Regions from separate parts of the Homo sapiens genome. Here region 1 is linked to region 2. Evidence: promoter capture Hi-C in human tissues and cell types (Jung and others, 2019). All regions are on one chromosome and are shown on one strand. The core of a region is centred on a gene start or on the middle of the fragment in contact, and the rest is flanking DNA. Distances in the headings are between cores, read along the strand shown.

What was found. The method cuts DNA at HindIII sites, captures the fragments that hold promoters and counts their contacts. A contact is called where the count stands out against the background at its distance.
Region 1: a fragment that was not itself captured here is called in contact with the fragment with the promoter of SLC16A13 in region 2 in 1 of the 25 tissues and cell types used here (liver).

What each region holds. Positions count from the first base shown.
Region 1 is chr17:7,184,082-7,190,732 of GRCh38, forward strand. DLG4 (discs large MAGUK scaffold protein 4) reads right to left here. Exons shown (of 20, transcript NM_001321075.3): 20 at 3,106-6,651. The coding sequence ends at 6,627. Among named protein-coding and RNA genes, the nearest start is that of ASGR1, 8.0 kb to the left of the region's middle. RefSeq lists a silencer at 2,571-2,740. The HindIII fragment of the contact is 8,875 bases long and covers 454-6,651 here.
Region 2 is chr17:7,031,038-7,037,466 of GRCh38, forward strand. It overlaps SLC16A13 (solute carrier family 16 member 13), which reads left to right and starts at 4,978. Exons shown (of 4, transcript NM_201566.3): 1 at 4,978-5,544; 2 at 5,690-5,833. The coding sequence starts at 5,346. RefSeq lists enhancers at 4,417-4,917, 4,526-4,575, 5,306-5,545. The HindIII fragment of the contact is 7,914 bases long and covers 1-6,429 here.

The DNA.
Region 1 (6,651 bases), core at 3,641-6,140, 150 kb after region 2:
AGATGGGTCTGGAGTCTGAAGAGACTTATGAGCAGGAGCCTCTGAAAGCAGAGTTGTGGGCGAGGTCCAGGTGTGGCAAAGTGCCCTGTGGCGACCCTGCTCCGTGAGAGGGCATGGTGGAAAGAAAGCAGCCCAGGACAGTCCCTGCCAGTGGGAGAAGCAGAAGGAAGTACCCAGGCCTGGCAGTCATCCAAGCTTCAGGGCCAGCTCTGGGGACCATAAGCACCAAGTTAAATATTGCTAGGGAGGCCACGCGCGGTGGCTCATGCCTGTAATCCTAGCACTTTAGGAGGCCGAGGCGGGCAGATTTCGTGAGCTCAGGAGTTGGAGACCAGCCTGGGCAACACGGTGAAACCACGTCTCTACTAAAATACAAAACAATTAGCCGGGCATGGCAGCGTGCGCCTGTAGTCCCAGGTAGTCTGGAGGTTGAGGCAGGAGAATTGCTTGAACCCAGGAGGCGGAGCTTGCAGTGAGCCGAGATTGCACCACTGCACTCCAGCCTGGGTGGCAGAGCGAGCCTCCATCTCAAAAAAAAAAAAAAAGTGTACATATATATATATATTTTGCTGAGGAGAGATAATGGAATGAACTTCCCATAAGGGTAAGTCAGGAAGACTGGAGTATTTTCAGATTGGGGGAGGCCTGAGCCGCTGGTGAACAGAGGAGAAGGGGCTGGAAGCAAGAGGGCTTGTGGCTGCTGAGCAAGAAGCTTGCCGAAGGCCGGAGGCTCCAGGAAGATGCTCATGCTGCAAAACCAGCCTGAGGCCCTCCATCAGCCAGACCTGCTCCACCTTGCCCTCATCTGGAAAATGGGTTCATGCCCCGCTCAGAGTGCTCATCAAGGTTAAATGGGATAATGAGTGAAAAGCACTTAGCGCAGTGCTGGCACACACCAGGTGCTCAGCACGTGCTAGCTGATTTTATTTTTATTATTCTCACTAGCAACACAGCCATGAGTTGCATTAGACCTCCAAGGCCTCTTCCAGTTTGGGAGGAGGAGAAAAGGGAGAAGATTGGGATCAGGATGGCAGAGGATGTCTGTCCCCACACCCCAGAGGGTGGTTATAGCAACTTCGCTGGGACAGAGCTGGAGGCCCGGGGGTTATCTGAGTTGAGACAGTCCCTTCCCCTGCTATGGAGAAGGATTCTGAGCTCCCTCAGTCCTTGCCAACCCTCTCAGAGCACTTTCCAGCCTCATGTTTGGGATGGGCCTGTGCACCCAAGGGCTGGAGCTAGACCTCCTCCCAGGCCTGCAGGGAGTCTAATACCCGCAGATCTGAAAAGAGGCACCTGAACAAACAGGCAGGAGGGGCAAAGCAGAGGCTCTTCACGAACTTCCCAAAGAGGGCGGCCTATGGTCCCATATCTAGAAGAGGCTGAGCAGGAATTGGGTTGAGATGAAGCAGGGGAGGTTGAGGAAAAGGAAGGCTATCCTCCAACCTTTCGGGCTGGAGGGCTGTGCGCCAGGGCAAGGGAAGAGGGGGACCACCAGTGCTGAAAGGAGCAGACGGGCCTCTGCACACAAGTTTAAATCTGAGCTGACACAACCCACCCCAAGGGCTTCAATATCCCATCTCTGCAGTTGACAAGAAGCCGGCCTGCAGGAATGGGGGCCCAAGCTCCCTGTCTCCAGTAGGGTCTCTCTCCCCCCAGCTCTCTCCTCCTCAATGCCACTCTGTCCACCCCAGGCACACCTTTTCAACCTTGGGACAGCCAGGATTCTCTGACCCAGGACCCTCTCTATACCTCTTTCCTACTTTTTTTTTGAGACAGAGTCTTGCCCTGTCGCCCAAGCTGGAGTGCAGTGGCGCAATCTCAGCTGACTGTAAACTCCGCCTCCCGGGTTCAAGGGATTCTCCTGCCTCAGCCTCCCCAGTAGCTGGGATTACAGGCGCCCGCCACCACCCCCAGCTTTTTTTGTTTGTTTGTTTTTTTAGTAGAGACAGGGTTTCACCATGTTGGCCAGGCTGGTCTTGAACTCCTGACCTCGTGATCTGCCCACCTCAGCCTCCCAAAGTGCTGGGATTACAGGCGTGAGCCACCATGCCAGGCCTGCCTCTTTCCTACTTTTTGAGGGTAAAACTTGTTAAAACTCCAAATGATTCCAGGCTTTAACTTTTGGGCTTATGCATATCTGAAAATAGACCAAGAGGCCAATGACAATAATTGCTACCATTTTCTACCATGCGTCAGGCACTGTGCTGAGGGCTTTACGTGTACTTTCCAGTTTATTCCTCCCAAGTATCCACCAAGGTAGGTAGTTATTTCCATTTTACAGCTAGGTATACTGAGGCTTAGAGAGGTTAAGCTCTCCCCAGAGTGACAGTGACTCCACCATCGTCCCTCATCCTAACGCCAGCAACAGCCTAGCTGGCTCTCCATTGCCCCCTGCTGTGTATTCCCCTTCACACCCAGAGTAACTGGCTCACGGTTCCCTCCACAGCCCTCCAGCAGCTTCTACACCACTCTGAAAAATCCACGGGAAGTCCTGTGTGCCACGCCTCTCTGACTTCTCTGACACACCTATTTCTCTCTGTCCCCCACCCTACTCCACTCCAGTGGCCTCCTTCTGTCCTCCAACCTTTCAAATTTATTCCTTCCAGACTGTTCGTCTCCCTACTTGGCACACTCTCACCACCCCAGTCTTTGTTGTCCTTCAGGCCTCCACCCAAATGATGCTGCAAGGGGCCTCCCTGACCGCCCGGTCTAAACCAGCAAGGGCCATCACTCTCTTTCATAGTAGCACCCATCATTGTCTAAACACTCTGTGTTCACTTACTCCCTATAGTCTGTCATCTCCACTGGATGCACCCAAAGTTCCCTAAGGACAGGGATGTTGCCTTCCCAGCATCTAGAACACTGCCTGGTTCCAAGGAACATCCAAGGAAGTATTTACTGAAAGAAGTAAAAAGTGTGGGGAGAAGAGGAACCAGGATTTGAACCTATGTTGTTTGGGAGCCCAGGGCTCCAATGCATTAATTACATTGCCTTCTCAAGCGGCCAGGCCATGGCCTTGGAAGAATACAGCCCCAGCGGCAACCGTGCTTCCCCTGAGGAATAATGCCTGGAGGGAAACAGGAAGGAAACTTTTTAAAAACAGTATGTATTTCTATATTTATTTGAATTGTTGTCAGGTACGTGTACTGATTATAATTTACAAAATAATGCATGCAGGCCAGGCGCGGTGGCTCATGCCTGTAATCCTAGCACTTTGGGAGGCCGAGGGGGGGGGGGGTGGATCACCCGAGGTCAGGAGTTCGAGACCAGCCTGATCAATATGGTGAAATCCCCATCTCTACTAAATACAAAAAATTAGCTGGGCGTGGTGGCATGCACCTGTAATCCCAGCTACTCGGGAGGCTGAGGCAGGAGAATAGCTTGAATCCGGAAGGCAGAGGTTGCAGTGAGCAGAGATCGCACCACTGCACTCCAGCCTGGGCAACAAGAGCGAAACTCTGTCTCCAATAATAATAATAATAATAATAATAATAATACATGCAAAATTATGTGATTCTACCCCATCCAGGTCAAATATGTGATTCTGCCCCTTCTAGTTTAACACGCAGACGCATTACCTGCACACACCTTCCTCAGCTCCTAGATTTCTCCCTTCAGCTCACGATAGAGAACGTTATCACAGCCTCAAGCCATCTGCTATTACACAGAACCAAGCTAAGAGAAGGATTATTTGAAAAACATCAGGGCCAGGTGCAGTGGCTCACGCCTGTAATCCCAGCACTTTGGGAGGCCAAGGCGGGCAGATCACCTGAGGTCAAGAGTTTGAGACCAGCTTGGCTAACATGGTGAAACCCCGTTTCTACTAAAAATATTAAAAAATAGCTGTGTGTTATGGCACGCATCTGTAATCCCAGCTACTTGGGAAGCTGAGGCAGGAGAATCACTTGAACCCTGGAGTTGGAGGTTGCAGTGAGCCGAGATCGCGCCATTGCACTCCAGCTTGGGCAACAAAAGTGAAACTCGACCTCAAAAAAAAAAAAAAAAAAATCCTCTGAAGCAGTGCTTCTCCACCCAGTGAGACATCAAAATCACCCGGGAGCTTTCCAGAAATGCAGACCCCTGGTCCCTATCCCCAGGATCCTGATGGACTCGGTCCTGCATAGAAAATCCTGCAGGGCAATACGTGGCTACTGGTTGAAGTGACACCCCTTCAGCAATCTCTGCCTCTATTCTTGGACTACTTTAGGCTTGGACGGCCATGCCATCCACAGAATCACTACCCCTGGGTTGGTCTTTTGCATGAAACTCTCAACTTTAGTCAGGAGTGGCTACAAAAAATGCCCTTTTGCACTGTTTGGGATTTAACCACCATAACTCTTAGGGCCCTCTGCCTCAGCCTTACCCACTGGAGCACCTGAGAATCAGAGAAAGGAATAGTACCCCAGCAGGTGCCCCCAAAGGTTCATCTGTGCCAAACACATGAAGAAGGCAGAAGGCTGAGAGTCACCATTCTACATAGCAGGATCTCAGGAGCTTCAGTTAGGACTTAGGGCCAGGAAAATATGACTCCCTAAAAGAACTAAAATTATTTCTCCCTTATAATAAAGAAGTAGGTAATTGACAATTTCCTTTTTTGCCATGGCTATCAGGAAGCTCAGAGATCACATTTACCCTCACAGTTCATATACATTTCTCCAGTTTTCATCTTTGGCATTTAGATTCTTATTTTCCTACCCTCATTATTTACAAAGCTGCCTCAGATCTTTCCCATAGAGATAGGACATAAAGGCTGGGCGTAGTGGCTCATGCCTGTAATCTTAACACTGTGGGAGGCCAAGCTGGGCGGATCACCTGAGGTCAGGAGTTCGAGACCAGCCTGGCCAACAAAGCAAAACCCCATCTCTACTAAAAATACAAAAATTAGCCAGGAGTGGTGGCAGGCGCCTGTAATCCCAGCTATTCGAGAGGCTGAGGCAGGAGAACCGTGTGAACCCAGCAGGCAGAGGTTGCAGTGAGCCAAGATCGCACCACAGCACTCCAGCCTGAGCGAAAGAGCGAAACTCTGTCTCAAAAAAAAAAAAAAAAGGGTGGGGGGGGCGCATAAAGAAACCTAGCGTATATTCACACAGCAGTTCTTATCAGCAGAACTCTGTAAAGATCATTTCCAGGCCAGGCGCGGTGGCTCACGCCTGTAATCCCAGCACTTTGGGAGGCTGAGGCGGGTGGATAACAAGGTCAGGAGTTCAAGACCAGCCTGACCAACATGGTGAAACCCCATCTCTACTAAAAATACAAAATTAGCCAGGCATGGTGGCAGTAATCTGTAATCCCAGCTACTCAGGGGGCTGAGGCAGGAGAATCACTTGAACCAGGGTGGCAGAGATCACAGTGAGCCGAGATCGAGCCACTGCACTCCAGCCTGTGCGACAGAGCAAGACTCTGTCTCAAAAAAAAAAACAAAAAAACAAAAAAAATCATTTCCAGATCCTAGCTCTGTCCACAACTCCATGAACATGAATGAACGAAGTTTCCTCTCTATTTTCCTTTAAGGACTGTTGTGCTTCCCAACAGGACTGAGACAGCCCGGCAGGGATCAGAGCTGGACTAAGTCTGCAGGGCCCCAGACAAGTTCCAGCCTCCCCTTTCTGGCCTGTCATGACTTTGGACAGAGCTCCAGACCTTCCCAGGCTCAGTCTTCACCAACTCGGGTTCCTTGATTTGCCAGTTACCTCCCTGGCCCATTTTCCAGGCCACTAACCTCTCTGGCTTGGAGTGAAGAAGGATCTGACTCTGCTGCGCCCATCTCCCTCCACACCCAGGTCCCAAATAACCAGGCCACACACCAAGTTTCAAGTATCTGTCTCTTCCTTTCACTCTCTCAAAAGAAAAAAATAAATAAATTGCAGAAGGCGGCAGCATTTCCAGTCTTCCCTGGCTCCCGGACACCCGACCCCCGACCCCTGCCCCCCACCCTCCCTCCCGCATTTCCCACTCCCTAGACCCATCCCTCCCTTTTCCCCAAAAAAATTCCCAGGAAAAAAAAAAAAAAAAGCCACATTTAGACCTTCCACTCATGCAAACCGGCAAAGAAAAATGGTGGGGGCATGTGGAAGGCAGGGGCCCGCTGCGGAGTCCCCTGCTTCTCCCCCCAAAAAACCACCTTTGAGAAGAAAAAAAGTGGAAAAAATAAATGAGAAATCAAGGAACATGGGGAATTACGATGAGGGCAGGGGTGACCCCAGACCCTGCCTTAGGAGAGAGCGGAGGCCTGTGGCCCTGCATCCCTGCAGCGGGTGCTCCTCGAGGGGGCCCTGACTTCTGGAATGTGTGTGGGAGAGGATGGGGGAGGGCAGGTGGCCCCCGGTGGGTCTGTGTGTGCATTGGGGGCAGGTGGGGGCGGGGATCCTAAGGAGCAAGGGCTCGGAACAAGGAGCCCAGCTCCCCCCCAGACCCCAGGTTCCTGGCGTTCAGGAGCCCAGTTCTGGGGTGCGGGGATACATGCAGAGGAGTGTCCCCCCTCCAACAGGCTGGATCCAGTTAGAAAGGAAATAAATAAGAAGGGGTGGGAGGGAGGCCGGGGGGAGCCAAGGGCTTGGGCAATTCAGTCCAGACCAAGGGCCCAGGTGATGGAGGCAGGGCGAGTCCAGGCCAAGCCAGGGCAGGAATCAGAGTCTCTCTCGGGCTGGAACC
Region 2 (6,429 bases), core at 3,728-6,227:
AATCCCAAAGTCTTCACTCATTGCAGCATCAAAGTCTCATCTGTGAGCTAGTTATCTACTTCCAAGTTATGGAGCAAGTTATCTACTTCCAAGATATAATGGTGGGAACGAGCATAGTGTACACATTCCCATTCCAAAAGGGAGAAATAGGCAAAAAGAAACGGGTGAAACAGGCCCCAGGAAAGTCTGAAACCCAGTGAAACCCAGCAGGGCCAACATGACACCTTTTTTTTTTTTTTTTTGAAAGGAATCTAGCTCTGTCACTCAGGCTGGAGTGCAGTGGCGCGATCTCGCTCACTGCAACCTCCGCCTCCCAGGTTCAAGCGATTCTCCTGCCTCAGCCTCCCAAGCATCTGGGATTACAGGTGCCCACCAACACACCCAGCTAATTTTTGTATTTTTAGTAGAGATGGGGTTTCACTGTGTTGGCCAGGCTCGTCTTGAACTCCTGACCTCGTGATCTGCCCGCCTCGACCTCCCAAAGTGCTGGGATTACAAGCGTAAGCCACCGCACCCGGCCAACATTGCGACTTAAAGGTAGAGAATAATCTTTTTTGACTACATGTGGCACCTCCTGGACACAGGGTGGGAGTTGGATCCCCAAGGCTTCAGGCAACCCAGCCCTGTGGCTTTGGTGGGTGGGCTGGAGTCTGGTGCCTGAAGTTTCCTGGGGGGAGGGGGGCGCTGCCTGCTGCCTGTGATTCCAAAGTTCTGGGGGCCTGGTGGTGGTCCTGCTTCCACGGCTGTACTAGGCATTGCCCTACTGGGGACTGTGTGCATTGGCCTTGTTCCTATGGCTCCACCAAGGACTACCCCAGTGGGGGCTCTGCAGTGGCCTTGCTTCCACAATTCCAATAGGCATTGTCCTGGCAGGCACTCTCTGAGGCAACTTCAACATCACATTGCTGCTGGGTATTGCTCTGGTGGGGGCTCTCTGCAGTGGCTCTGCCCCTGTGACAAGTCCCTGCCTGGGCCCCTAGGCTTTCAACAACATCCTTTGAAATCCATGTGGAGACTGCCAAGCCTTCACAGCTCTTACTTTCTGCAAGACTGCAGAATTAGCACCACAAGGATGCAGCAAAGGTCTATGATTTGCACCTTCTGGAGCTTCAATACAAGCAACACACACACACACACACACACACACACACACACACACACAAGGAACACCTGGGGCCACTTAAGCCACCACCAGGCTGGGGTGGCCACAGAGTGCTACACTGGGGTGTGGGGTGCAGAGTCCTGAGGTTGCCCTGGGCGGTGAGCCCATGGAGAGCACCCAGGGCCTGTACCCTGAAACCCTCTGTCCTCCAAGGCCTCTGGGCCTGTGATGGGAGGGGCAGCCTCAAAGACCTCTGAAATGAGTTCAGGGACTTTCTTCCATTTTCTTGAGGAAGAGCACCTGGCTCCTTTTTAGCCATGTTAATCTTTTTAGCAAGAAGTGGCTTGGCCACGCCCTTGGATTCATCTCCTGAAAATGCTCTTTCATTCTCTACCACATGGCCAGGCTGAGAATTTTCCAAATGTTTCCACTCTGTTTCTTTTCTCTGTGAGATCATCTTAAGCAGTTAGAAGCAACCACACAGCAGCCTCAGCATTTTGCTGCTTAGAAATGTCTTCTGCCTGCCAGATACCCTAGTTCATCACTCTCAACTTCAGCCTTCCACAAAGCCCTTGGGCATGGATACAGTTTAGCCAAGCTCTTTGCCAGTTCGTAACAAGGATGGCCTTTACTCCAGTTTTCAATACCTTGCTCCTCAGTTCCATCTGAAAGCTCATCAGAATGGCTTTTGCTTCCATATTTCTTTTTTTTTTTTTTTTTTTTGAGATGGAGTCTCGCTCTTTCGCCCAGGCTGGAGTGCAGTGGCACGATCTCGGCTCACTGCAACCTCCGACTCCCTGGTTCAAGCGATTCTCCTGCCTCACCCTCCCGAGTAGCTGGGATTACAGGCGAGTGCTACCATGCCCAGCTAATTTTTGTATTTTTAGTAGAGACAGGTTTCACCATGTTGGCCAGGATGGTCTCAATCTCCTGACCTCATGATCCGCCCACCTCAGCTTTCCAAAGTGCTGGGATTACAGGCGTGAGCCACCCCGCCCAGCTGCTTCCATATTTCTATCAACATTCTAGTCATAAACACTTAACCAATCTCTAAAGAATTCCAAACTTTTCTTAGTCTTCTTGTCTTCTAAGACCTCTCCAGAATCTAGGCTTTTTCTAGCCTACTCCTCCAAATGCTTCCAGCCTCTGCCCATCACCCACTTCCAAAGCCACTTCATCATTTTCCGTTATTCATTATCAGCAACACCCCACTTCTTGGTACCAGTTTTCTGTCTCATTCAGTTCATTTTCTGTTGCTTACAACAGATTATCTGAAACTGGGTAATTTATAAAGAAAATGAATTTATTTCTTATAGTATGGAGGCTGAGAAATCCAAGGTCCAGGGGCCTCACCCTCTAGTGAGGGTTTTCTTGCTGATATGGACTCTCTGTGGCACAGGGTGTCACATGGCAAAGGGGGCTAAGCATGCTAATGTTCTAGCTTGGATCTGTCTGAAAAAGCCGACAATTCCCCTCCCATGATAACCCATTAATCTATTAACCTTTTAGTCCTTTATGATGGGGTTAATCTGTTAACCTATTAATCCATTATGGTGGGCTAATTCATGGGGATTAATTAATCCATTAATCCCATCCAATCACCTTTTAAAGTTTCCACCTCTCAGTACCGCCAAGTTGGGGATTAAGTTTCAATATGAGTTTTTGGAGGTAACATTCAAACCATCGCAGTGGTCGTTTCTCAATCTTTTTAAACCCATGACCTGGATTAGATTTTTTTTTTTTTTAATCAAAAAACAAAAACTAGGCAGGGCATGGTGGCTCACGCCTATAATCCCAGCACTTTGGGAGGCCCAGGCAGGCAGATCACCTGAGGTCAGGAGTTCGAGACCAGCCTGACCAAAATGGTGAAACCCTGTCTCTACTAAAAATACAAAAAATTTAGCCAGGCATAGTGGCAAACACCTGTAGTCCCACCTATTCGGGAGACTGAGGCAGGAGAATCACTTGAACCCAGGAGGTGGAGGTCGCAGTGAGCCGAGATCATGCCATTGCACTCCAGCCTGGGAGACAAGAGCAAAACTCCATCTCAAAACAAAAAACAAAAAACAAAAAAAAAAACACTAAACTAAAACCTTCCTTCACTTCCCACTACAGCAGCTTATCCCCTGTTGAAAATAACACCAATAAGACCAGCTAAGCTAATATTACTTGGCTCCTGCTGCATGTCAGCACATAAACTAAGCATTTTTAGTGCATGGATTTTCTAACTGAACCCCTTGGGCAACGCTTAATAGTAGGTACTATTATCCCCAGTTTACAGATGGGGAAACCAACTGAGAGATTCAGCATCTTGATCGAGTTAAGTAATAAAGTCAAGATTGGAACTGGGCCAGGCACGGTGGCTCACGCCTGTAATCCCAGAACTTTGGGAGGCCAAGGCTGGTGGATCACTTGAGGTCAGGAGTTCGAGACCAGCGTGGCCAACATGGTGAGACCTCGTCTCTACTAAAAATACCAAAATTAACTGGGCGTTGTGGTGGGAGCCTGTAATCCCAGAAACTCAGGAGACTGAGGCAGGAGAATCACTTGAACCCGGGAGGTGGAGGTTGCAGTGAGCCAAGATCATGCCACTGCACTCCAGCCTGGGCCACAGAGCAAGACTCCATCTCAAAATAAATAAATAAATAAATAAATAAATAAATAAATAAATAAATAAAAGACTGGAACTGTGATCTGATTCTAAAGACCCGAGTTCTTAATCACTATGTAATACAGCCACAGCAATTTCTGTATCTTTGGCATATTCCCCACCAGCCGACATTTTGACTCTTAGAAAGTATATATGTGTATTATTGATGATTACTTTTATTTCCCACATATAAAATTATTTAAGGCTCAATATGTCTTTTAAGACTACACACCTCCCTCCCTGCCTCCACTTCTTGTTTGCTGCTTTCCCCAGTAATCTGGGAGTGAACATTGAGTCCACGGTTTCAAGGTCAGGGTCCTGGGAAGTATGGCTTATAATGAAGGAACAGGAAATCCAAGCCATTGGTGTTATGGAGACTGGGAAGGACTGGGGAGTGTTTGCTAGGGGCCTGAGGACTACTTGGGTAAGAGGGGGCTGACTGCTCCAGTGGCCAGGGTCATAGTTTGTCTCTTTAGTCTACCCCACCATCAGATCAAAAAAGGTGGTTAGGAAGTGGTTGTTACTAGAGGGCAGAGGAAAAGGTTCCAGCCCCAGTGAGGAAGAGGTAGGTGGTGTTGGTGGGGCCCTGTGTGAGCTTACAGCCGCCCTTCCTCTCCTCAGTTATTTTTGGTCTCTGTGACCTGTAGGTTTCCTGTTAGTGGGAACAGAAGTGACAGGAACGAGTTCCCACTACAGAAATGAACGCCAGGAGTCCAACTCATTCCCCTTCTCTCTTCCCTTAGCCGTTGAACTTCTCAGGGATCCAGGCTTCTAGGTCTGCGTGCCTAGGGCTGCGTGTTAGTGGCTTCAGGCGCTGCGCCAAACACTTCGTTTGAGTCTCATCTCCTAACCCCTCCCCTACCCCCAACAGGGCCTTGCAATTCCTGGACCCCTCATTAAAGCAAGAGAGTCCTCTCCTCTCCAGACCCAGTTTACCCACCACTAACCCTTCCGTGTGGCTCTGGGTGCTGAAACGGGGATGACTTGGCCCGCTAGGTGAAGAGGAGACGGAAGCTTCCTGGCAGTCCCCGCGTCACGTGGGGCCCTACCTAGTCAGCCTCCTAACGCCCCTCCTTACGCATGCGCCCATTCACTGCTGGTCCCCAACAATGCCTAAATCCCGCCCTGCCCTTCTCGTTCCGCCCCTGCCCGGGAGCCCCGCGTCCTCATTGGCGAGCTCCAGGGTGGCCCGGCCCGGACACCCCAGTGATAAAATAGATCATCTACACGGAAACTGGCGCGCTCCAGGGGTGGGGCCCAAACTCAGTTCCACCCTCTGGCTCCCAGCCGAACACCGAACCGGGACCGATCCGGCCCCGGCTTGAACTAGCTCAGCTCCGAGCTCGCGGAACCACGCCCCCGGGAGACTCTGGCCCGGCCAGCGCGGGCCAGGTCTTCAGTCCTATATCGCCCCGCCTTGGGAAAAGGTGCAGGGGCCTCTCGCCGCCTCGTCGGGCCCTTCCTCTCTACCTGCCTCTCCAACCCCTCTCGGCCCCGAGCCACCCGGCAGCGGGGGTGGGTGTGCAGAGGTGCGGCGTCCAGAACCCGGCTCCTGCAGAGGCTCTGGGTGGCAGCAGCCCTGTTACCGCTTAGATGGCGCGCAGGACAGAGCCCCCCGACGGGGGCTGGGGATGGGTGGTGGTGCTCTCAGCGTTCTTCCAGTCGGCGCTTGTGTTTGGGGTGCTCCGCTCCTTTGGGGTCTTCTTCGTGGAGTTTGTGGCGGCGTTTGAGGAGCAGGCAGCGCGCGTCTCCTGGATCGCCTCCATAGGAATCGCGGTGCAGCAGTTTGGGAGTGAGTGCGGCGCCTGGATCTGGCGGACTGCGACCCTCGGAAGGGAGAGGGAATGCGGCGACTGGGAAGTGGAAGGGCGAGGGGCGGGAGATGCTGGGGGGGAGACCCCTGAGATCTTCTCGCAGCGCCCCTTCCACTTCCTCAGGCCCGGTAGGCAGTGCCCTGAGCACGAAGTTCGGGCCCAGGCCCGTGGTGATGACTGGAGGCATCTTGGCTGCGCTGGGGATGCTGCTCGCCTCTTTTGCTACTTCCTTGACCCACCTATACCTGAGTATTGGGTTGCTGTCAGGTGAGAGCCTGCACAAGGGCAGGAGAGTCAAATGCTTAGATCGTTGGATGTTCACCTCCTTCCTGCTCCTTCCAAAGGGTTCGGGGAGAAGCTGAGGGAAAGTTTAGCTAGCACCTGTACCCAGAAGGGAATTCTTAATAGGAATGACTAAAGCGACAAACATGGTGAGGAATTAGGAAATTCAAGGATGATGAAACCTGGCCGGGCACGGTGGCTCACGCCTGTAATCCCAGCACTTTGGGAAGCCGAGGCGGGTGGATCACGAGGTCAGGAGTTTGAGACCAGCCTGGCCAACATGGTGAAACCCCGTCTCTACAAAAATACAAAAATTAGCCGGGCCTGGTGGCGCTAATCCCAGTTACTCGGGAGGCTGAGGCAGGAGAATCGCTTGAACCCGGGAGGCGGAGGTTGCAGTGAGCCAAGATCGCACCACTGCACTCCAGCCTGGGCGACAGAGCAAGATTCTGTCTCAAAAAAAAAAAAAAAAAAGATGAAACCAAGTATACAAGCCCAGAAGCCCAGGGCTAATGGGACTGGAGTGTAAAAGGAAGAATTACTATAAAATGGTGCTAGGGGCCAGGCACGGTGGCTCACGC